Regions from separate parts of the Homo sapiens genome. Here all the other regions are linked to region 7. The links are contacts of gene promoters, found by promoter capture Hi-C in blood cells and fetal thymus (Javierre and others, 2016). All regions are on one chromosome and are shown on one strand. Each heading gives the region's core, a stretch centred on a gene start or on the middle of the fragment in contact. The rest is flanking DNA. Distances are from core to core; before and after follow the strand shown. Region 1 overlaps CYTIP (cytohesin 1 interacting protein). Region 2 overlaps GALNT5 (polypeptide N-acetylgalactosaminyltransferase 5). Region 3 has its middle 32 kb from the start of GALNT5. Region 4 overlaps GALNT5 (polypeptide N-acetylgalactosaminyltransferase 5). Region 5 has its middle 5.4 kb from the start of GALNT5. Region 6 has its middle 58 kb from the start of GALNT5. Region 7 holds the start of GPD2 (glycerol-3-phosphate dehydrogenase 2).

The links. Contacts are between HindIII fragments. The CHiCAGO score rates a contact against its expected background, and 5 or more counts as called.
Region 1: a fragment that was not itself captured here is called in contact with the fragment with the promoter of GPD2 in region 7 in 3 of 17 cell types (M0 macrophages, M2 macrophages and M1 macrophages); the score reaches 9.2 in M0 macrophages.
Region 2: a fragment that was not itself captured here is called in contact with the fragment with the promoter of GPD2 in region 7 in 1 of 17 cell types (erythroblasts); the score reaches 6.4 in erythroblasts.
Region 3: a contact is called between a fragment that was not itself captured here and the fragment with the promoter of GPD2 in region 7, in 1 of 17 cell types (erythroblasts). The highest score is 7.2, in erythroblasts.
Region 4: a fragment that was not itself captured here is called in contact with the fragment with the promoter of GPD2 in region 7 in 1 of 17 cell types (neutrophils); the score reaches 5.9 in neutrophils.
Region 5: a contact is called between a fragment that was not itself captured here and the fragment with the promoter of GPD2 in region 7, in 1 of 17 cell types (erythroblasts). The highest score is 8.3, in erythroblasts.
Region 6: a fragment that was not itself captured here is called in contact with the fragment with the promoter of GPD2 in region 7 in 2 of 17 cell types (endothelial precursors and erythroblasts); the score reaches 7.4 in endothelial precursors.

The regions. Positions count from the first base shown.
Region 1 is chr2:157,416,842-157,420,371 of GRCh38, forward strand. It overlaps CYTIP (cytohesin 1 interacting protein), which reads right to left. Exons shown (of 8, transcript NM_004288.5): 7 at 1,682-1,748. Among named protein-coding and RNA genes, the nearest start is that of CYTIP, 25 kb to the right of the region's middle. The HindIII fragment of the contact is 974 bases long and covers 989-1,962 here.
Region 2 is chr2:157,268,637-157,271,845 of GRCh38, forward strand. All of the region lies in intron 1 of GALNT5 (polypeptide N-acetylgalactosaminyltransferase 5), which reads left to right. Among named protein-coding and RNA genes, the nearest start is that of GALNT5, 13 kb to the left of the region's middle. The HindIII fragment of the contact is 1,406 bases long and covers 556-1,961 here.
Region 3 is chr2:157,224,248-157,227,544 of GRCh38, forward strand. No RefSeq gene overlaps it. Among named protein-coding and RNA genes, the nearest start is that of GALNT5, 32 kb to the right of the region's middle. The HindIII fragment of the contact is 439 bases long and covers 1,551-1,989 here.
Region 4 is chr2:157,314,782-157,318,328 of GRCh38, forward strand. GALNT5 (polypeptide N-acetylgalactosaminyltransferase 5) reads left to right here. Exons shown (of 10, transcript NM_014568.3): 10 at 1-3,547. Among named protein-coding and RNA genes, the nearest start is that of ERMN, 9.3 kb to the right of the region's middle. The HindIII fragment of the contact is 823 bases long and covers 1,103-1,925 here.
Region 5 is chr2:157,250,480-157,254,196 of GRCh38, forward strand. No RefSeq gene overlaps it. Among named protein-coding and RNA genes, the nearest start is that of GALNT5, 5.4 kb to the right of the region's middle. The HindIII fragment of the contact is 4,490 bases long and covers 1-3,717 here.
Region 6 is chr2:157,197,521-157,201,256 of GRCh38, forward strand. No RefSeq gene overlaps it. Among named protein-coding and RNA genes, the nearest start is that of GALNT5, 58 kb to the right of the region's middle. The HindIII fragment of the contact is 954 bases long and covers 1,210-2,163 here.
Region 7 is chr2:156,434,498-156,437,924 of GRCh38, forward strand. GPD2 (glycerol-3-phosphate dehydrogenase 2) reads left to right here and starts at 1,882. Exons shown (of 17, transcript NM_000408.5): 1 at 1,882-2,016. RefSeq lists silencers at 984-1,153, 1,594-2,003 and an enhancer at 1,394-1,443. The HindIII fragment of the contact is 5,965 bases long and covers 1-3,427 here.

The DNA.
Region 1 (3,530 bases), core at 226-2,725, 980 kb after region 7:
TGCTTGGCTAAATTTTTTTCATTGATCCTTAACAACGTACATCTGGCTCTTCAAACTCTAATGTTAATCACATACCAATATGACCCTCCCTGCTTCCACACTAACTGAGTTGGTTGGTATCTTGTGTGTGTGTGTGTGTGAGAGAGAGAGAGAGAGAGAGAGAGAACTTGTAATACCAGCCTTGGAAAAACGTAATCAGTAAGTGACTATGCTTCAGAAAAAATAATAGAATACTGTACACTCTAAAATGGTTTTATTTTGTACTGATTATCTCCACTGCTGCTGTCTTTTGTCCTCGGTTGACAATATAAAAAGAAACTGTTCTTTCAGATGATTTGCAAGGTTGAGTACAGCCAGCCCCATGGTGACTAGTCATAATGCTTTCCTTTTTGCTAATACAACCTACTTCATTTCATCTTGCAATAAGTGATGAATTTCTTTTGATTGGAGAGCAATTGCCTTATAGAATCACATGCCCTGGATGTTTACTATACATCTAGAAAAAGCAGAACTCCTTCAATTGCTCAAAAAATATGTACAACAATGACTTTATGAGGATCCTGACCTAACAATGTTGTCTATACAAGGCTGTTTCTATAGAACAGCAAGAATTTATATTCACTGGGCCATTCAGGATGCTCCAGAAGTGGAAATGAGGCTAAAAAGCCCTCATGTCTAAAGAAAGCAAGGAGGTGGCTGAATTTACAAGGCCATAAAGAAGTTTTTGTATTAAATATTTCTGCCTCTCTAACAAACTTCACTACCCAAAAGAACTATTATGAATTTTTTAAAAATATTAAATGAAGACATAAAAAAGAGAAGTAACTTGTACATAAGTTTCAAACACTTCAATTTAAAAAAAAAAAAACAGAAGTTCATACCAGAACTCTAAGCCATAAATTAGTGACTAGTTAAGGATTAAATTGTTATCTTTTTTGGTAAACAAATTGATTATCACTTTTAACAGATATTCTAGGTTACAGACTTAAGCTTGGTGCTATTTAAAGAAGAGATAAGCTATATTTCACACCCACGTAGTGGTTTCAGTGAATTATTTGTACACAAAAGTTCATTCCTTTGGTTACATCTATCATACAACAAATAGCGAATTAACACATTTTAAACTCAACCCTTCCCTTAAAAATGCACTCAATGGCAAGAGCTATGCATTTACTGTTGTATTCATCTTACGCATTTATGTCTTTGTCTTGGGGGCCATGAAAAAGAATTTCTCTGCATAAATGCAACTTATGCAATTTAAACAAAAGACAGGAGCTCTACCCAATAAGTGTGCAACCATTCCAGCTTTAATAGCTTCTAAAAACTATACAGCCCCTTAGCCGTGATTGTTTTCAGAAATGTAATTCATTCACTGAAGTAGAAGGAAAGTTAGGCAATCTTCCCCAATGATTTTCTAAAATCTCCAGGTGCCTGTTTTCGAGCATGTGCATCTGTGTGCATGTGCATCTGCGTCATGATACGCAGTAGTGGATCTGACTTGCCTTACCCCTCCTCCAAATACAGCCATTCCAAAGCTCATGCCAAAGAAACACAGACCCATTTCCTTGACCAGCACTAGACAAATTTTTCTTATAATGATGATAATCTTAAACCAACTTTGAGGCAGAAATACTGAAAGAAGTAATGTTAGTGTGGTTTCTGAACAGGAAATTGCATTTACCATGAAGCAGACGATGTTCCTGTAACTGCAGAGATCTGTACTCCACCCATTTTTGTTTCAAAGTTTGCTGTGAGATTAAAAAAAAAAAAAAAAAGTTTTTATTATTAGGAAACCCCAGTGAAGCTAGCAATTTAATTCTAGGTGTTGAGATTTGTCATTAAATTTTTTACCTTTCTTTCTAGTACTACCATTCCATCTCATCCATTTAAAATATTTTTGCTGTATAAAAGGAGGATATTGAGAATACTATGCCCTCAAAAAATAATCTAGTAGTACCAACAAGCTTTCTTTTAAAAAACAAGAAAAACAATAAAATATACTTTTATTTAAACAATTATTTTAATAAGATTATTTGGGTTTGTGAAAACGTACTTGCTGTTTAGGCAAGGATTTATACTCTAGGATTCCCACATCTGTAGGATGAAGACAATAATAGAGCCTAAACCCCAGAAATGTTATGAGGATTAGATGAGTGCATAGATGTAAAATTTTTAGAACAGTGACTAGAACTTAGTTAATGCTCTACAAATATCACCATCAACATACAAGCCCAAAGACCTCCACCTCCCGGGTTCAAGCAATTCTTCTGCCTCAGCCTCCCAAGTAGCTGGGATTACAGGCACGCCCCACCATGCCCGGCCAAATTTCTGTCTTTTTAGTAGCGACGGGGTTTCACCACGCTGGCCAGGCTGATCTCGAACTCCTGACCTCGTGATCTGCCTACCTCAGCTTCCCAAAGGGATTACAGGCGTGAGGCACCGTGCCTGGCTTGGACAGCTATTTATTTTCCACACAAAAAAGGAGAACAGAACTATCTGAAATGCTTCCTTAGCGGGCTAAACTTAGAACACTGCTAAGCACCCTAACTTCTTAACTGCCTCCCTTCTTGGCTGCCCCAGCACACGAGAGCTGAGACCCACAGTGGGAATTAAGTAGCTGCCACATGGGTCAAGACAGCACACAAGTCTTGGCCTATCCCACAGAGGGGACTGAGGCAATGGCAATCTAAAACAAACCAGGCAGAAGGCATCTGAAAAGACATAGCCATAGGCTCACTGTCTCCCATTATTTATTCTCTACTGTTCCCCTTCCTTTGCAAATTCAGGTCCCTATAGCAAGCCTAGCAAGTGGGCACAGCTCAGGTTTGCCTGTGGACTCTTAGGCCAAAGGAAAGACAGCCTAGTTGAAACAAGCAATCCTTGCCACAAAGCAATCTGCAAGGAGTAGATGAAGGCTAAAAAGGAAGAGGCAAAAAATGTATATTTGGAGAAGGATTAAAGGAAAGAAAATAATAAAATTGCAAGAACGTCATTAAATGCTTAAGAGGAACATGGCTTGTTCCTCAGTCTTCAAAGATTGAACAATAACTGGGCAGAATTTTCCAAACTTTGATACTAGTAACAATTAACAGCAACCCTTATGGTTGCCAATATAAAATCGAGCAATAAATCAATCAAATGCTTGACTCAATCAACTTCTTGTTCTTTCTGTACCATAATATAGTCTAGACTAGCTTTAATACTGCTTTGAGGGCTGAGGGCAGTGGCTTACGCCTGTAATCTCAGCACTTTAGGAGGTTGAAGTGGGAGGATTGCTTGAGACCAGGAGTTTGAAACAAGCCTGGGCAACATAGTGAGACCTTATCTCTACAAATTTTTTTTTCTAATTAGCTGGGTATGGTGGTGCACACCAGTTCTTAAGAGGCCGAGGAGGCTGGGCACAGTGGCTCACGCCTGTAATCCCAATACTTTGGGAGGCTGAAGCAGGTGGATCGCCTGAGGTCAGGAGTTCAAGACCAGACTGGCCAACATGGCGAAACCCCATCTCTACTAAAAATACAAAAATTAGC
Region 2 (3,209 bases), core at 9-2,508, 830 kb after region 7:
ACTTAGTCTCTTGTCATCTTTCTCAAGTCCAGAGTCTTTCTGTCCACCACAGTAGTATGTCAGCTAAGTGCAGGATAGTGAAACTCCCCACATTAGAGGCCCCATTTGTTTTTAGAACTTGGATTGGCTGCAGTAATCTAAGCCTAGATTCCCCCCCAAGACAAAGAGATTGGATTAATTTTTTAAGTATAGCATGGGACCAGTAGACTCTAAATACCTAATTTGTATAATAAATAGGCATATAGAATATAAATGTGATTTCTTAGCCTCAAAAAAGTTACAAACCTAGAAATATCTGGCATTCAAATTAGACTTTAGCAGCAATTTCTCCTCCCATGATATAGGCAGAAATTAAGGAAAAACTGAAATAAAGGAAACTTGCTTGAATTAGGTTGGTGTAGGATAACTTGAAATGGTTTTTACAACCTATGCCAACTAGATGACATAGTGTCTGCCCAGAATATTCTCCATTCTCCTCAAGCCCCTACCCTATTACATTAGCAAGTAACCTTTCTTCCAGTATGAAAGACTAGAGTAAGAGTTTAAAATGCTGAAAGCTTTGCGGGGGTTTCCCACTGTTCCTTTGAACAAAACAAGCACACTAGTTTTGCTAGATACCCGGAAACATGTTTAATCTGTTTAGTAATGCAGGAGAACAGGTCTCTGTAAATGTCAGAGTGCCTTGACATGTCAGTCACCCCAAATCAAGGCACACCCTGAAACTTTGTATTGGAAATCTCAGGCATCTCTTTTGGGTCCCTCTTTCCCATCCTGTAATATTGCTTTTACCAGGCACTAATATGATCTGTACCATATAATCTTCCACAGAATTTCTTCATTGTAATTCTTTAAACACATCTAAGATATATATTTGTCAACAATTGGCAGAGGTACTACTTATTTGCTGGGATATTAGCATCTAGTGGAATCTCTCATGATCTGCCCATGTAGGGTACTAATAGTGAAATTAAGGCACCATGACATAATCGGGGGAATAGAGGATTAGATATTTGGTGATTAGAGGTGTCTTCCCCAAATCTCTCAAATTTCTGAGAATTTTTCTTACCTCCAATTTTAGACTGTCTAGCACTTTTTAGAACTTCCTTCTAAAAAGGACAAAAACTCTACTAATTTAAAATATAGGAAGAGTCATTTGCATGAGCCTGCTTAGTTAACTCCTCCTGATACAATTCCTTTTGTCACTGGATGTTTCTCAGACCAACCAAATTTTAACCATAAAGCAACTCTCAGGACTTCACAGCCGGGCTTGTTGGTTTATGCCGAATTTGTGTAATTGATCCTTTCTTTTCAGAACTGATTTGATTTTTTTTTCAGCACCAAATACCATTAAAAAAAATGTAACTGTGAAATGTGAATTTCTCATTAATTTATATTATAAAGTTAGAGATGAGGAAGTCATAGGCTGTAGCTGTTTTCTTCTGTACCCTCCCTTTCACTCAGGCTATTAAACTCCCCTTAGCTTTACTTCCTCTTTCCCTGACCCAGAGCCCATGCCGGAACATTCAACCACCTTACACCAGTCCCCTCAAACCTCACTACCCATTCTCTTTCTACCTCATGTGCTCTGATATCCCTTAGACTCATATTAATCCAGCAATTTGCTTTATCTCTTCTTACACGCAGGCTGGCAGGCACTGGTGGAGCAAATCATATATTGAAATTTCATAAAATTTTGGCATCTCCAGTTTCAGGAAAGTGCTCACTGCCCCTCTGAAATCCTAGCTAGCTGGCCAGCATTCTCTCCCATTGCCCATAGTATCTGTCCAAAATATTCTCCATTCTCCTCAAGCCCCTAGCCTATTACATTAACAGATAACCCTTCCTCCAGTATGAGCTATGAATATTTTCAACTTCTCATCCCATGTGCATAAATATATTTGTATACGTTACCACCTTTTTGTACTTTCTATCTCAAAGGGAAATATTTCTTCCACTATTTAAGCTTTAAGTTCCATCTCATCTCCATCCATTCATTCATGCATTCAATACATATTTATCAAATATTTATTGTGTAACTGTGCTGGAAGCTTGTGGTACTGTAGTAAGCAAGGCAGATTTGTCCTACCCTCAGAAAATTTTGGATGCAGAAGATAAGGAAATAAGATTGATAGATGAATGCTGTGACAGAAACACAATAATAGAGAATAATAAAAGAATAGTTAATTTTGAGAGGGTAGGCCAGGTGCAGTGGCTCACGCCTGTAAACCCAGCACTTTGGGAGGCTGAGGCGGGTGGATCACAAGGTCAGGAGATCGAGACCATCCTGGCTAATATGGTGAAACCCCGTCTCTACTAAAAATACACAAAAATTAGCCAGGCGTGGTGGCAGGTGCCTGTAGTCCCAGCTACTCAGGAGGCTGAAGTAGGAGAATGGCGTGAACCCGGGAGGCGGAGCCTGCAGTGAGCAGTGATCACGCCACTCCACTCCAGCCCAGACTCTGTCTCAAAAAAAAAAAAAATGTGAAAGCGTTGTCAGAGACGGCATCTCTATGAAGGGAATATTTAAGATAGGAACTAAAGGAATAGAAGCAGCCAGCTGCGAAGACATGGGAAGGGTAGCAAAAATGCTAGAAGTTAAGCAAATAACAAAAGCTGGAGTGTTCTTCAGGGAACTGAAAGAAGGCCAAGGTGGAGTGTGTGAGGGGAGAGTGGAATGACAGGCAGTTGGAAAGTTGAGCAGGGGTCCTATACACTAAAGAATTTGGATTTTTTTCCTTTTCACTTTGTCCCATAGAAATTGACTGAGGATTTTAAACAGAAGAGTGGTGTTGATCTGACAAACTGTGGAAGTAGTGTCCCTTTAGGAGACTCCAGCAATAATCCTGGAGAAAGAGAGTGGATGCTCAAGAGCTAGGGGAGGCAACTGTGGAGGTATAAAGATGTTATAGCTGAGATATCTGTTGGCAACACACAGAATAGAAGTTGATGGATTGATTGTATTTATGGTCAGGAAGAGGGTGAAGTCTAGATGAGAATCCATATTTCTGCAGCAAGGTGGGTGGCGATGCCATTATGAGGGAAATGCAGAGGAGCTGGTTGGGTTGAGTGGGGTGAAGTCAAGGTTTCTGTTTCAGACACATTATGAGTGAGATGCCTGTGAGACATGCAGAGAAGATGTTCAGAAATTGTTTGGATATAAGTTAAGTCTGCAATTCAGATGGGAAATCTGACCTGTATATAAACTATGA
Region 3 (3,297 bases), core at 520-3,019, 790 kb after region 7:
CTATCCTGGAAAAAGTTACACAGATACTGATATTCCATTAAAAAAAAATAGACTCATTTTTTCAAATAACTATCACTATACCAATAGAATTCCACTGAAAAAGACATAAAACTTCCGGACAATTTTAAAGAAATTTGGGGTAAATTCCTCCCACAGACTATAAACTACTTCAACCATTGTGGAAGACAGTGTGGTGGTTCCTCAGGGATCTAGAACTAGAAATACCATTTGACCCAGCCATCCCATTACTGGGTATATACCCAAAGGATTATAAATCATGCTGCTATAAAGACACATGCACACGTATGTTTATTGGGGCACTATTCACAATAGCAAAGATTTGGAACCCACCCAAATGTCCAACAATGATAGACTGGATTAAGAAAATGTGGCACATATACACCATGGAATACTATGCAGCCATAAAAAATGATGAGTTCATGTCCTTTGTAGGGACATGGATGAAGCTGGAAACCATCATTCTCAGCAAACTATCGCAAGAACAAAAAAAACAAACACTGCATGTTCTCACTCATAGGTGGGAATTGAACAATGAGAACACTTGGACATAGGAAGGGGAACATCACACACTGGGGCCTGTTGTGGGGTAGGAGGATGGGGGAGGGATAGCATTAGGAGATATACCTAATGTAAATGACGAGTTGATGAGTGCAGCACACCAACATGGCACATGTATACATATGTAACAAACCTGCACGTTGTGCACATGTACCCTAGAACTTAAAGTATAATATATATATATATATATATATATATATATATATATATATATATATATATATATAAATATAAAAGCTGATCCACCATTATCAAGTAGGCTTCATCACAGGAATGCAAGATTGGTTCAACATATGCAAATCAATAAATGTGATCACCTAAATAGAACTAAAACAAACACCACATGATTATTTCAATAGATGCAGAAAAGGCTTTCAATTAAATTCAATATCCCTTCATGTTAAAAACCCTCAATAAACTGGGCATTGGAGGAACATACATCAAAATAATAAAGCCCATCTACGACAAACCCACAGTCAATATCATACTGAATGGGCAAAAGCTGAAAGCATTCCTCTTGAAAACCAGAACAAGACAAAGATGCCCTCTCTCACCACTCCTATTCAACGTAATACTGGAAGTCCCAGCCAGAGCAATCAGACAAGAGAAAAAAGAGGCATCCAAATAGGAAGAGAGGAAGTCAAACTATCACTATTTGCAGATGACATAATTCTATACCTAGAAAACCCCATAGTCTCTGCCCAAAAGCTCCTTCAGCTGATAAACAACTTCAGCAAAGTTCCAGTATACAAAATCAATGTACAAAAATTAGCAACATTCCTATACACCAACAACATCTAAGCAGAGAGGCAAATCAGGAATGCAATCCCATTCACAACTGCCACAAAAAGAATAAAATATCTAGGAATACAGATACCTAGGGAGTTGAAAGAAAAAAATAAGATTAAGAGTCACCTCTGAGTTTGAAATTTTGGATTTAGCTAGATGAGTTAGCTAACACTCATATTTGAAGCTTATTTCAGACTCTACAGTGTAGTAGATATGCAATTTATATATTTTTATCTTTTTAATTGGCCTTTTATTCAGTAATCTTGCTAAATTCACTTAAATTGTAATAATTTATTTATAGATGCCTGAGGATTTCTTAGTTATGCAGTTATATCTTCTGAAATGCAATGACAATTGTATTTTTTCCTTCCCAATTCTTGTAGTTCCTTTGTCTTGGTTGACTGTATCAGTTAGGCTCTTCAAGACAGCATTGAAGAATATGTAGTAAATTTGCAGCCATATTGTTCCATTCTTCAAATCCAGATGAAAGTTTCTGGCATTCCCCATTAAGTATTATATTTCTGGATGTTTTTGTAGATACCCATTATTAAATTAAGAACTCCCTTCTATTCACAGTTTGCTAAGATGTTTGATCATGAATGGGAATTGAATTCTAGTCTAAGCTTTTTCTGTATATATTGAGAAGACTATATGATTTTTCTTTTTTAATTTGTGAAGTCCACGGATTTTTATGATGATAAACCAATTTTGCATTCCTATAATAAGCCTAACTTAATCATGATGTATCATCCTTTTTGTGTATTGCCATTCCGGGTTTACTAATACTTTGTTTAGGGATTTTATATCTATGTTCCTGAGTAAGATTGGCTTGTCAATTTTCTTACTCAAAATATTCTTAAGAAGTTTTCATTTCAAAGTTACGCTTGCCTCATGAAACAAGTTGAGGAATGTTTTCTTTTTATTTTCTAGTAGAATTGCTCTAAATTGATGTCTTTGTTCTTGTGGAAAGAAGAGATATTGTTTGATTGGTCAGCTTAGTTTGGTTTTATTTGGGTTAATTTGTTTACTTTTTGAATTCAGAATTCAATATTTTAATAGCAAAAGATATTGATGGTTTATACTCTTATTATTTCATATTAAAATTTTATATTAACACTCTTATTTCTTATTTCCATTCTTGCATCAGTTTTGGTAAGTTTTGATTTTTTAGAAATTTCTCAATGTCACCAAAATTTTCAAATGTATTACTGTAAGTCATTCATGATATTCTCCTTCGATATTTTTTGTTTCTGAAGGGTCTATAATAATGTCATTTTTTCCATTTATTATATTTGTTATCTGTCCTCTTTTTTTCTTGATCATTTTACCAAACATTTACCCATTTTATTAGCCTTTTCAAGTTAATCTATTTTATTTGCCTGTTAGACTTCTGGCTTTGTCAATTTCTATATTTTTAAGAGAAGCATGTTTAGATTTAGCTTTTTATTGATACATAATATTTGTACATTTTGTTACATGCATAGAATATGGAATGATCAAGTCAGGGTATTTGGGCTATCCATCACCTCAAATATTTATCATTGCCATGTGTTGGGAATATGTCAAGTTCTCTCTTCCAGCTATTTTGAAATCTACAATATGTTGTTGTTAACTATAGTAAATCTACTGTACTATCAAACATTATTTCTTCTATTAATTGTATGTTTGTATGTATGTTTGTGCCCATTAAACAATTTTTATTCATTCCCCCAATGCCCCCCACCCCCCACCGCCAACACACACCCTTCCCAGCCTCTTTCTACTCTCTATCTCCATGAGTTCTATTTTTTTAACCTCTCACATTTGAGTGAGAACACATGATATTTGTTTTTCTGTGCCTTGCTTATTTCAGTTCACATAATAACCTCCAGTTTCATCCATGTTGCTGCAAATAACATAATTTTATTCTTTTTATGGTCAGGTAGTATT
Region 4 (3,547 bases), core at 264-2,763, 880 kb after region 7:
AGAAAAAAAATTTACCAACCAGGCGCAGTGGCTCACACCTGTAATCCTAGCACTTTAGGAGGCCAAGGTGGGTGGATCATGAGGTCAGGAGTTCAAGACCAGCCTGGGCAACATGGTGAAACCCCGTCTCTACTAAAAATACAAAAATTAGCTGGGCATGGTGGTGGGCGCCTGTAATCCCAGCTACCTGGGAGGCTGAAGCAGGAGAATTGCTTGTACCCGGGAGGTGGAGGTTGCAGTGAGCTGAAATTGCGCCACTGCACTCCAGCCTAGACAACAGAGCAAGACTCTATCTCAAAAAATAATAATAATAATTTTTACCTCAGAAGAAAGCCCCAAAATCTTGGATTAAAACAAAAAAATGACATTGGGTGATGGGAAAAAAGAAAGGAACTAATTATCATTGAGTGTGTGTAGGTACTATTTGTGTAGGTGCTATATGTGTCCCATCTCACTGATGGGTACAACTCATCAAATGACTCTCATTCTCCCTGTTATATGAACAAGAAGGATAACTCCCACATACAGATGAGGAATTTGGTAAATTGCCCAAGGTCATCCCACAAGTAAGAGATAAAACCCAGTTTCCATTTTATCTGGCTCAAAAAAAATTTCTCTCACTATACCATGCTGCTATATAATTAATTTTCTTCTTTACAAAGGGCTGTCATCTCAGGTGGGTGCATTTAAAAGTTTCTTGGTCTCAGATTACTGATGCCACAGTATTGAGATGAGATTGAATTAAACCCCTTTGGCCTCTTTTGGATGTTGTATAAACAGAAAAAAGAAGCATGGTCTCTCTCTCTCTGTGGTAACCAATTGATGTGTAGGTATAAACATGGCTACCCCCACATGTTTTGCTGTGATCTATCTCTTTGACTTCATGCAGAACCTATTCTTTTTCATCTCCTGGACCAAATGTGAAAGAAAGAAGTGGACATGTGGAGGATTCTTTCTCTGTGAATAATATTGAAAAAGCTCCATTTTCTGGGGAAATACCCATGGTTCATTGTCTGATGCCAAGAAAGAATTCAGGACACAGACACACATGAGGAGTGGGTTTAGGAGTGGAAAGTTTAATAGATAAAGAAGAGAGTGAGAAAGCTTCCTCATGTTGAGAAAGACAGTTGCTCAAGAGAGGGTTTTCTGGGTTTGGGGCAAGATTTGATTGATTTCATACAGAGGCTTGAGGAGGCGGTGATTGATATACATAGGGCCCGGGGATTGGTTTAACCAGGTATACTACTTACATAGCCGGTGAAAAGACTGGCCCTCCCACCCTAACCTTTTATTATGCAAATGCATCTTCTACCTGGCTGTCACCATGACATTTGCACACGTGGCTTCACTTCACCAGTGCCATGTCACCCACACACCTGGTGACAAGGAAAAGGGAGCAGGAATCACCATATTGAATGTGCCTGGCTTCCAGGTACAGCTGCTAGCTTTACATATGGGAGCCTCTAGCTTGCATATCTATACTTGCAACTTGACTTTTCAGGCTGCTTTTTGTTAGAAAATAAGTGGCTTGGGGGCTGCTTTTTATTAAAGGAAAAATCCACCGAGAACTATTTTACCCTTTCTAATGGCCTAAAATAAATTTTTAATGACTCCTGTATTAATATTACCAACCCTTGATCCCTCCAACCTTTAATCAAAGCTAGCAGATTGCTCATCTTGAACAGAAATAAAAAGTTAAAAAGTTGGAGTCCTTTAAAACACAAACCATGACTTTTTATTCCTACTCATTGTGTAGGTTGTCACTACTGTGCTTTTGCAACAACTTTTGCATGGGTTACTCAATAGTTGCTACAAGACAAAATGCCTTACAATTAGAAAAAAAAATTAACCAGAGATATTGTACAAAATATTTATTTTTTGACAGTTTTGAATAAGCCATATAAAGTATTATATATCCCTAATGAAGCTTAATGGATAGTATTCCAGGTGTTGGTGGTGTCTGTATCTCAAAGAAAGAAAAAAATAACATCACACTAAACAGATTTAATGCCTCTGTTTTCAACCTAATGGAACAATAGTTATCATTTCAATTAGAGTCGCTTTGCAAGTTTATGTGAATCTTTGCTTTGTAAAAACACATACAAAACACAAGGGAAAATTCTCATTTTCCAGCAAATACAGCAACTTCTAATATGCTGTTTCTAATAATGAGTCACCATCAAATAAGTAATAAATATTTTTTTCAAAAACAAGAGCTTTCTGTTTTATTATTGATTGACAGATATTTACCAGTTTAAGGATATTGGTCATAAGCATCTATATAATAAACCCTTTATATTAGATGTTAAATTAAAATTTTTCATAGCATGAATAGATTTTTAAGTGACCACTCAAAAACATAGCAATTTTTGTAAATATACTGTATGTGTGTGTATATATATATATATATATATATATTTTTTTTTTTGATGCTTTGATCTGGAAGAAAGAAATATCAAGAGTTTCTATTCACAACATAAAGAAAATAAAATGTTTTTAGATATTTTTAACTCTTTCAGGTGTATAGCTTTGTCTGCATCTGGCCTTCTGCACAAAAGTATCTCAAGTGAACTTACACTCTGGATACCATTTTCCAAACTTGAAGGAGTAATCAAGTTCTTAATTATCAGGGTGCTTGTTATTTAGTTGAAGATTACACACATGTCTTCTGCTTCAAACAACTACCCCAAATTTGCTAGTTTTATACATATTAGCTTAAAAACAAGAGAAGCCAAAGATTAAGTAAGTGAATTGTGTTAAAGATTGCCTGAAAACATTTGCTAAGGGGAGAATAAAACTAAAACTGTGGAGTATAAAGGATGTTGGAATTAAACATTTTTAAGTACTTTTTCTTTTGCATCTGATCGACTGAAGTTATTATAAAGAAGGAATCAAGTATGTAACTTTAAATTCTAGGTAAACATCCAAATTACTTTCTAAATTCATTTCCAAAATTCTCCTGTGCTGGCAGTTAGCTACTAGAGATCATCATTTGATTTTGTAGTTTGCCATGTTCTGAGTGAGTTCAGCTGCTTACTACTACCCATGTCATTGTGTTTGTATTGATTGCCTGGCTCAGTTATCTCATGTTCTTCATGAACTATATACACATTTTCATTGTCTTTAAACAATACTGAGTTTTGAAGTTAAGTAGAATATTGTAGGGGTTATCAGAAACCCATATTCATTGTGGTATGTTTCTGTCTGATACTTTAATATTGGTAAATATAGTTTTTGACATTGCATTTTACAATCCTATTGTTTTTTAGAGTGATGAAAGTTCAAGTTTTAAGAGAAGTGGTTGCCTTTCTCATACTGTCAAACATATTTCTTCTTTATTATACTCTGGTGCTTTATCCTTCTCCATAATTCTCTATTATTACTTATTTTAAATGTTTTCCCTATCACATTGAAAAACTTAAATGTCCGTTCTCCATTTGAAAATATGCCAAAAGTATGATCCCATGTAAATATGCAGAAACGATTGCTATGAAAATGTCAGCATAGTTTAAATGTATTACTCTGATGATTACAGAGATTTCTTCAA
Region 5 (3,717 bases), core at 274-2,773, 820 kb after region 7:
CAGAAGTTGTAACTATTCATCTTCATTGGAAGAATTAGTTAAAATGGAATAATATTTCCATTTGTATTTTTACTCTACCTGTTGATATTGCAATAATGCCTGCCTTTTAGTATATGATTTTAAAACTTTTCTTTCCTTTTATGGATTTGTTTCACAGGATGTTATTATCCAGTTGATTACAACTTGTCTCTTCTCTAAAAAAGAGAAAGAGAGAATTTGGAAAGAAAAAAATCACATTAAAATCCGAAAAAAACAGTAATTAGTATTTACTTGGTTTTCCCATTTAAATTTTCTAATTAGTATCTTCATCCTGTATTGTCTGAAGTCGCAATGAGTTGAAATTAATTATCCATGTGGATATCCAATTTTTCCAACACCATTTATTGAATAAACTACCTTTTCCACTTTATGCATTCTTGGCTGTTTTGTCAAAGAACAACTGATTGTAAACTTGTGGATTTATTTCCGGGCTCTCTGTTCTGTGCCATTGGTCTATGTGGCTGATTTTATGGCAGTATCATATACTTTTTATTGACACAGAGTCTTGCTCTGTCACCCAACCTGGAGAACAGCAGTACAAACTCGGTTCACTGCAACCTCGACCTCTTGAGCTCAAGCTATCCTCCCACCTCTGCCTCCCAAGTAGCTAGGACCATAGAGGTGCACCACGATGCCCTGCTAATTTTTTTATTTTTTGTAGAGATGGGGGTCTCATAATGTTGCCCAGGCTTGTCTCAAGACAGTAGTATACTATTTTGATTGCTATAACTTGGTAGCATATTTTTGAAGTCAGGTACTATGATGCCTCTAGCTTCTTCTTTCTCAAGATTTTTTTGACTATTCGATATCTTTTATGGTTCCATACAAATTTTAGGATTTTTTTTCTATGTCTGTGAAAAACGCCAGAATTTTGATAGACATTTTATTGAATTTATAGATGACTTTGGTTTGTATGAACATTTTAAGAATACTAATTATTTCAATCTGTGAACACAGTATATATTTCCATTTGTTTATGTCTTCCATTTCTTTCATCAATATTTTATAGTTTTCAGTACACAGAGATTTCACCTTCTTAGTTAAAAATGCTTTCATCTCCTTGGTTAAAAAATATTTATTCCTAAGTACTTTTATGCTATTGTAAATAGGCTTGTTTGCTTAATTTCTTTGTGGTTTAAAATCAACTCAATGTTGATTAAAGACCTAAACAGAAGACCTAAAAGTGTAAAACTACTGAAAGTAAACACAGGGAAAAATCTTGACATTGGTCTGAGTGGTGATTATTTGGAACTCCGAAAGCACAGATAACAAAAACAAAAATAGACAAATGACACTGCAGGAAACTAAAAAGTTTCTGCACAGCCAAGAAAACAATCAACAGAGTGAAAAGACAACCTATGGATGACAGACTATATTTGCAAACCATACATCCAATAAGGAGTTAATATCTCAAATATATAACCATGTTTATTGCGCTCCTACTGATTGACAAAGAGCTCAACTCAATATCAAGAAAGCAACTGGATTTAAAAATAGGGAAAAAAAATGAGTAGACCTTTTTCAAAAGAAGACATACAAATGGCCAACAGGCATATTTTTAAAATGCTTAACATCACTAATCAGTAAGGAAGTGCAAATCAAAACCACAATAAGATATCACCTCATACATTTTGGAATGGCTATGATGAAAAAGATATAAGATAACAAGTGTTGGTAAGGATATGGAGAAAGGGGAACACTTGTACACTGATGGTGGGAATGTAAATTAGTACAACCATTATCGAAAACAGTGTGGAGTTTCCTCAAAAAAACTAAAAAATAGAATTACCATATGACCCAGCAATCACACTTCTGGCTATATATCCAGAGGAAATTAAATCAGCACCTTGAAGAGATAGCTGCAGTCTCATGTTCGTTGCACCATTACGCATAATAGCCTAGATATGGAATTCACCTAAGTGTCCATCAACAGATGAATGAATAAAGAAAGTGCAACATACATACATATATATCACACACACACACACACACACACACACACACACACACAAGAATGTTATTTTGCCTCAAAAAAGAAGAAAATCCTATCATTTGCAACACTGTGGATGAACCTGGAGGACGTTACACTAAGTGAAATAAGCCAGGCATAGAAAGACAAATACTGCATGATCTCATTCATATGCGGAAGCTAAAAAATTGAACTCATAGAAGTAGAGAGTAGAATGGTGGTTACTGCGGGTTGGGGGATGGAGAAAGTTGGAAGGTATTGGTCAAAGAATACAAAGTTTCAGTTACGCAGGATTAGTAAGTTCTGGAGAGCTAATGTACAGCCTGATGACCATAGTTGATAATAATATATTGTATACTTGAAACTTGCTAAGAGAGTAGATCTTAAATGTTCTCACCACACACAAAAAAAGATAATTATGTGAGATAATGGAGATCAGCTGCATTGAGGCAATCATACCACAATGTATAAGGCTATCCAAAGTCATGTTGTACACCTTAAATATTTAATATATGTATCATTTTATTAGTCAATTATAGCTCAGTAAAACTGGGGAAAAAGAAATTCAGTGATGCATCCATGGATAATCATTATTCTCTGTAAAATATACATTTAAATTAATTTTCCTTTTACATCTTTCTTTTTACTTAGGAGTGAGTAGTTGAGTAAATATCATAAAATAAAACAGATATTAGTTACTTAGGATATACTCACATAGTCAAGAAATCTTCAAATACCCAGATAAAGTAACTGTAGATGCAAAGCCAGAGAGCTGGAACCGGTGTTTCTAAGATTCTGTACTTCCATCAGGGAGATTTAAGGCTAGATATAAAACAGTGTTTACTGAGCTCCTACTTGATTAACAATGAGGATGATTCAAAGACATTTGCCATGAGAATATAACACAAATATACTTTTCACTCTAACTTTATGCAGATCTGTTTTGCTGAACAGTTTTTGATCTAGTCTGAGAAAATTAAATGTTGAGGATTAAATGAGATACCGTGAAGTGACTAGTGGTAGGCCCTCAGTAAATTCCCAATGAAAGGTTGCTATTAATATGATTATCCTGACAACAACCAAATAGAGTAGAGGGCAAGTCCTCCTACTATTATGCTCGTTTTACAGAAGAAGAAACTAAAATCTGTTTTTAAATGTTTAGTACAAGCTGGAGTCAGACTGATAATTGGAATAACCCCTCCAAATGTCTCCCAAGGATAATTCGTAACTCCAGATTTTCAGATGGATATCATCTCCAACTAAGTATGTACAGATTCTTGAGAAATTTGACCAGCCAAAGGTACCTGCATTCTACGACTTGGGATGACAAGCCAGGCTCCCTAACTGTGGGGTACCTCAAATAACCAACCCACTTACGTATTTAGTTTCCTGCTGGTAACATGGAAATTAATACAACTAAAATTTTAGAAGCACCGTCATTTACCAATATACAAATGTCATGTGTTGGGCAATATGTGTGTTGATGAAAAGGTAGAATTTCCTAATATCCTTTTTTTTCTATTCCTTTTACCTATGCAATTCATTGATCTGAGATGTGAAACAGCATGTGTGTCGGAAAAGAGAAAAAAAAGGAGAAAGATGTACAGCTATGAGGGCCACAGAAATTATTACTGAGTGCCTGAAGACACATAGTGTTGAATTAGTGGTATGGCTTATAACCAACTTCTACCATCATCACAGATTATCAT
Region 6 (3,736 bases), core at 437-2,936, 760 kb after region 7:
CAGGTTTTAAGGCAAAAAGTAGACAACATGCAAAAACAGATAATGTAAACAGAGATATGAGAATTCTAAGAAATAATTAAAAAGAAGTGCTAGAGATAAAAAAATTGTAATAGAAATAAAGAATGCTTTTGATAGGCTCATTAATAGACTGCGCACAGCTGAGGAAAGAATCTCTGAGCTTAAGGATATGGCAATAGAAACTTTTAAAACTGAAAAGCAAAGAAAAAAAGACTGAACGAAAAAAATGAACACAATATCCACAAACTGTGGGACAACTATGAAAGGTGTAACATATGCATAATGGGAATACAAGAAGGAGAAGAAAGAGAGAAAGAAACAGAAGCAATATTTGAAGTAATAATGACTGAGAATTCCCACCAAAGTAATGGCACACATCAAATCATAGATCTGGGAAACTCACAGAACACTAAGAAAGACAAATGCAAAAACAAAAACAAAAATAAAACAAAATGACACCTATGCATATTATATTCAAACCTTGGAAAATTAAAGATAAAGAAAAAAAACACACCTAAGCACATTTAAAAGAATATAAGTCATATTATGTCTGCTCTCAAACCACAATGGAATTAAACTAAAAATCAATATCAGAAAGATAACTAGAAAATTCTAAAATAATCAGAGATTAAACAACACGCTTCTAAACAACACATGGATCAAAGAAGAAACCCCAATGGAAATTTTAAACATTTAGGAATAAATGTAAATGAAAATACATTTTCTTGGCTGAGCGCAGTGGATCATGCCTATAATCCCAGTGCTTTGGAAGGCCAACATGGGAGGATTGCTTAAGGCCAGGAGTTTGAGACCAGACTAGGCAACATAGCAAGACACCATCTCCACAAAAAAAAAAGAAAAAAGAAATAACTAGCCAAGGATGATGGTGTGTGCCTGTAGTCTCAGCTACTAAGGAGGCTGAGACAGGAGTATCACTTGAACTTGGGAGATCGAGGATGCAGTAAGCTATGATCATACCACTGCACTTCAGCCTGGGTGACAGAGGGGGACTGTCTATAAACAGAAAGGAAGAACAGAGGAAGGAAGGAGGGAAAGAATGTAGGGAGCAGGAAAGGAAAGAAATACAATTTATCAAAACTTGTAGGAAGCAGAGAAATCAGTGCTTAGAGGGAAATTTATGCATTGAATACATACATTATAAAAGAATAAAAATCTAAAATCAATCACATAAGCTTTAAAGAGAATAGAAAATTAAATCAAAATTCAGCAAAAGAAACAAATAAAAATAAATCAAAATTGAAACTAGGAAATCAATTGAGAAAATCAACAAAACCTAAAGCAGTTTCTCTGAAAAGGTTAATAAAATTGATGAGCCTCTAGCTAGGCTAACTAAGAAAAAACTCTCAAATTACTAATATCAGAATGAAAGAGGGCGCATCACTACAAATCTTAAGGACATTAAAAGGATAATAAATGAATGTTACAGACAACTATATGTACACAAAGTTGATAACCTAGATGAAATGGACCAATTCCTTGAAATACACAATTTACCATAACACACAAAATAAAAACTAGACTCTCTGAATAGGTCTATTTCTATTCAAGAAATTAAATCAATAATAAATAATCTTCCAAAACAGAAAACACCAGGCCCAGATGAGTTCACTGGTAAATTCTATTAAATATTTAAGGAAGTAAATATATCCATTCTCTACAATCTCCTCTAGAAGACAGAAACAGGGGGGAATACTTCCTACTTCATTCTATGAGTCTAGTATTACCTAATACCAAGTCAAGACAAAGACATTCCAAGAAAAGAAAACTGCACACAAATATCTCTCATGAATATAGGTGCAAAAATCCTCAAAAAATATTAGCAATTGGATTTAACAATGTATAAAAAGAATTACACATCACAAGTAAGTAGGAATTTGCTATACAAGGCTGGTTCAACATTTAAATCAAGTAATATAATCAATTACATCAATAGGCTAAATAAGAAAAATCACATGACCATATCAATAGATGCACAGAAAGCATTTAATAAAATCCAATACCCACTCAAGATAAAATCTCTCAGCAAACTAGAAATAGAAGGGAACTTTCTCAACTTGATAAAGAACATTTATAAAAATAAAAAAAAACTACAGATAACACCATACTTAGTAGCGAGAAACTCAAAGCTTTTCTTCTAAAATCAGGAAACAGGGAAAGTTATCTCTCCTCATTGCAGTTTTCCAACATCATATTGGAGGTTCTTGCTAATGCAATAGAATAAAAAAGTAATAAGAGATATAGAGATTTTAAGAAAAAAAAACTGTTTTTGATCTATGTTGAACATCTGAAATGATTGAAAAAAGTCTCTGGAACTAATATGCAATTAAAGCAAAGCTGTGGGATACAAGTTTAATATATAAAAGTCAATTATTTTTCTACATATCAGCAATAAAAAATGGAATTTGAAATTAAAAACATATTACCATTTATATAAGCACTCAAAAAATAAAATACTGAGGTATAAATCTAACAAAATAGTATAAAATTTATATGAGGAAAACGATAAAACTCTAATGAAAGAAATAAATGTGGAGGCATTCCATGTTCATAGGTAGGAAAACTCAATATTGTGAAGTGGTCAATTCTTCCCAACTTGATCTATAGATTCAACATAATTCCAATCAAATCCCTAGCAAGTGATTTTACGGATACTGACAAACTGATTATAAACTTTATATGCAGAGGTAAAAGACCCAGAATAGCCAACTCAGTATTAAAGGAAAAGAATAAAATTGGAAGACTGACACCACTTGACTTCAAGATTTACTATAAAGCTACAGTAATCAAGACGGTGTGGCATTGGTGAAATTAATTCAAATATGGATCATCATAGGCCTAAATGTAAAATGCAAAACTATCAAACTCTAGAAGATAACATAGGAGAAAACCTAGATGACTTTGGCTATGGCAATGACTTTTTAGACACACCACCAAAGGCACAATTTATGAAAGAAATAATGGATAAACTAGATTTCATAAAAATTAAATACTTCTGCTTTGTGAAAGACAATGTCAAGAGAATGAGAAGCCAAGTCACAGACCGAGAGAAACTATTTACAAAAGACACATCTGACAAAGGGCTGTTATTCAAAATATACAAACTCTTAAAATTCAACAAGGAAAGAGACAATCCAATTAACAAATGGACAAAAGACCTGAACAGACACTTTACCAAAGGAGATATACAAACGGCAAATAAGCATATGAAATGTTGTCCATCATCACATGTTGTCTTAGTCCATTTTGTGATGCTATAACAATACCTCAAGGTGGGCAATTTATAAACAACAGAAATGGATTTTCTCATAGTTCTAAAGGCTGGAAGTCCAAGATGAAGGCACTAGCATTTGGTGTATGGTGAAGGCCTCTTGCTGGATCTTCACATGGCAGAGGTAGAAGGTCAAGATAGCAACCTACCCAAATGCCCTGTGAAGTCTGTCTTATAAGGGCCTTAATCCCCTTAATCCCATTAGAAAGGAAAAAACCCTCACAGCCTAATCATCTCTTAAAGGTCACATTTCTTAATATTATCACATTGGCAACACCTGAATTTTGAAGGGGACACAATCAAACCATAGCACACATGATTAGAAAATTGCACATTAAAACAATATACAAATATACAACTATTAGAATGACCAAAAAACAAAATACTGACACAAACAAATACTGGCATGGATGTGAAGTAACAGGAGTT
Region 7 (3,427 bases), core at 632-3,131:
TGTTCTTCGTATCACAAATTCCAGGAACATGAAGATATGGTTGGGTAGTCAGTCATGAACAAAATGCCTTTAAACAATCGCCTCTGAGCATGAGTGTGGGGGGTGCAACTTATGTCCCATATTCAAGGTCTCTCTGGGCCTGATAAATTTTGCATACCTCACATTGCTCAAATGCTCTGAACTATTTTTCTTTTCTCAACTACAATTTCCTTTTTCTGGTTGCTCATGATTCAACTGGGGGAGCTTTTAAACCGTGGTTCTCAAACTTTAATGTGCATCAGAACTACCCAAAGGGCTTGTTAAATCTGGGTAGCTCAGCCCCAGCCCCAGAGTCTATGAATCAGGTCACTGGAGTACAGTTTCTGTCAAGTTCTCAGGTGATGCTGATGCTGCGGGCTCCAGTGACTACACTTTTAGAGCCAGTTTTAAAATACAAGGACTTGCAGATCCCACGTCCAGACTGACTCATTGGACTTGGGGATGGAAATCTGGCATTCCACCCCTCCCTGCCCCCTCCCCCCAATTTTAATGTGTCCAAGGGTGAGAATCATTGCTCCTCTGTGGACTATGGATGGTTCCCTGAAGTTACTGAGTTTGGGATTTAATAAATATATGCATTCCTCTGGGTCAACTACAGGAATTCTGCGGTATTTAAGGACATTAAATGAGTGACTTAATACTTTATTTAAAAAAATACCACTGCTTTTTGGTTCACACTAATTTTCTTCCTTCTTTTGGAAAGGCATTTCCGTCCATCTCCTGGATATTTTCCAATACCACGATAGAAAGGTTATTAGTACAGCACCCAGAGGTCTTCGGAGCAAAGCTGTTAAAGAAGTGGGGTCCATTTGAGCCCCAACTTTGCCTTCCTTAGGTCCCCTTGGGCTTGTCTAGCCCTAGGAGTTCCAACAAGTAAGCTGGGCATGCTCAGTGGGCAGGGTCGTTTTTTTTTTTTGGGTGGCGGGGGGTTGCAAGTGGGAAGCCTGCTGTTCAGCTGCCGGGGCTCTCCGCCTCCCCCCACCTGTATGAGGCTGGGTCTGGGGAACCTGTGCTCAGCATTCCACCCCCTGGAGCTTGGGCTTGGTCTTCCCTGCGGGTCCCTGCGCTGACATTCAGGCGGGGAGCCAGGAGGCCTGGCGCGCCTCCAGAGCCCGCCGGGGGAGCCGGGCGAGGGTTCTGGGCTCTGACGGCGGGGTCGCAGGGTCGCCCGCCTCCTGGACACGTCTGTAGGCCTAGGGAAGCCTGCCGGCCGGGAGGTACAGAGTAGGAGAAGCCAGATCCCAGGGCGGACAACGAGAAGTCGTCAGGTAAGCCAGCCCCGCCAGCGTGCCGGCGGACGAGTGTCTCCTCTCCCGCAGGCAGATGGCCAGGGCGGCCCGCATGGGCGAGGGCACAGGAAATCGGACACCGCCACCGTCTTCCCCAGCCTGGCCTAGCTCAGGCTTTCCAGTCCGCCAGCCCGCTGGCAAGGCGGGGCGGAGGTCTGGAGTCCGGCATCGCCGAGGCACAAAGCAGGAACTGCAGCCAGGGGCGAGGGCCCTTGCGTGTGGCGCTGCGCGACCCCACCCGGCGGCAGGACCCGCGTCCCCGTCTAGTCACGTTCATTGGGCCACGGAGACCACCTCGCTCGCCGCCCGCTGTTGGCTTTTCCCTCCCACACCCCCGCCAACCCCGGCCCCGGTTCCCGCCCCCACTTCCGCGTTTCCCCGCTGGGCCGGAGGAGCCTGGGCCCGAGGTATCCGGGCAGGAGGTGGCGGCCTCGCCGCCCTGGTCAGGCCTCCGGGAGGGAGCAGGCGCGGGAGCGGGAGGAGGAAGTCGGGAAGAGGGAAGGCGGGGGCGCGGCCCGCCCGGCGCTCGAGTTACACCCGCCCAGCCCGCCTCGAGTGACAGCCCCGCGCGCCTCGCTGGGAGCACCCGGGCCGAGGCTCTGATTCTGGGGGGAGGCCGACTCCACCCTGGCTGGAGGAACTGGGTGCTCCTGCCCGCTGGCCCCTCGCGCGTGAGGATCTATCTCAGGTGTGTGCTTCCTGGGAGACCCCTTCCCCCGCCTCTAGTATTCTAGGGGGGGAGTGGTCCCTTTCTGACCCGGGCGAGTGTTCTGGGACTCCAGTCTTGGCGGTAGGTGGTGGCGGGAAACGGGAAAGATTTAGAATTTCTTCCCACCAGCAGAAGATGGATTCGCTCTTCTCTAGGGTTTCGTTGTTTATGTTTTGGAGGCGGCATTTGTAAAATAGTAAAGTGGCAGGACTTTTGGGGCGAGGGTTGGTACCCCATTGAAAGTTCATGCAAACTTTTAGCTTGTAGATGCGGCTAGTCTGATAAGGATTGTTGCTCCCTTCCGAAGCAAGAGTGAGAACGAGTCTGGAGGAGGGCTGAGGCTTCTTTGAGAAACTCAGCTGCTGGCGTGTGACCGTCCTAGGAGGAAATGGAAGGTGCACACTGATAACTTAAAACAGCCTCCACTCCCTATGTAGTAACTTCTACCAGCAAAAATAGATTTGCAAAGAGTGCTTTGGCAGGAAGGTGTAGCTGGGTGAATGAAGTGCTGCTCTTAGCAGATGGTCTCTAGTCTGGCTTCCACCTTGTGCAGTGGAATATTCACTCCCAGAAGAGTTCCAGAGTAATTTACAAACACAAATTCTTGCAAAGTGTTAGTGACATGGGCAACCCAAATCACACACAACACATTATAAATATCATAGGAGGCAGCTATAGAAATAGCAGCTAGTCAACTTATACTTGTATAAATAGGTGAGGGAAGGAAGTTAGTAAGTGACAGGGAGTCTTTATTGCTAAAACAAAACTGTTAGTATTTTGCATGTGTTCCAAGTTTAAAGAGATGTGAAGTTTCTTTTTGGCGTGTGGACGGTGCTGGCAGCTGTCACACTGGGCCCAGGCACTTCTTCGTAGCTACTGACCACTCTAGTCCCAGTCCTACAGTTCTTGCTGGCTACCACATGACATCTGGATGCCATTGCCCAATGGAGACCGTGTGCAGTCTGGGGAACCTTGTGATGTGGATGTTGAAACCCCCCTCTGTTTCTCACAGGGGCGTTATGTCAAATTACAACACTCCCTTGACTTTTACAAATCAACTCGTGAAATAATACAGCAATATTTTAATGAATAAATGGGTAAATATGGGGTTTTGGGTTTGAGAACCAACAATGGATTCATTGCAACTGTCCATTCTCATAGCTTATAGAGTCACTTTATTTTATAAAGAAATTCTAAACAGCATTAGAGCTCTGCTTCCTTCTTTCTCCCTTGTGATTCATTCAAAGATGCAATGGCTTGGTTCAGGAATTGACAAAAGGGCCACAGTGTTACCAATTGTTAGTGAGTGTTACCACCCCCTTTAGTTTTTTTTGTAACTATTTAATCTCATTGTAGATATTTTAAAAGATTTGATGATTATTGTGCATAA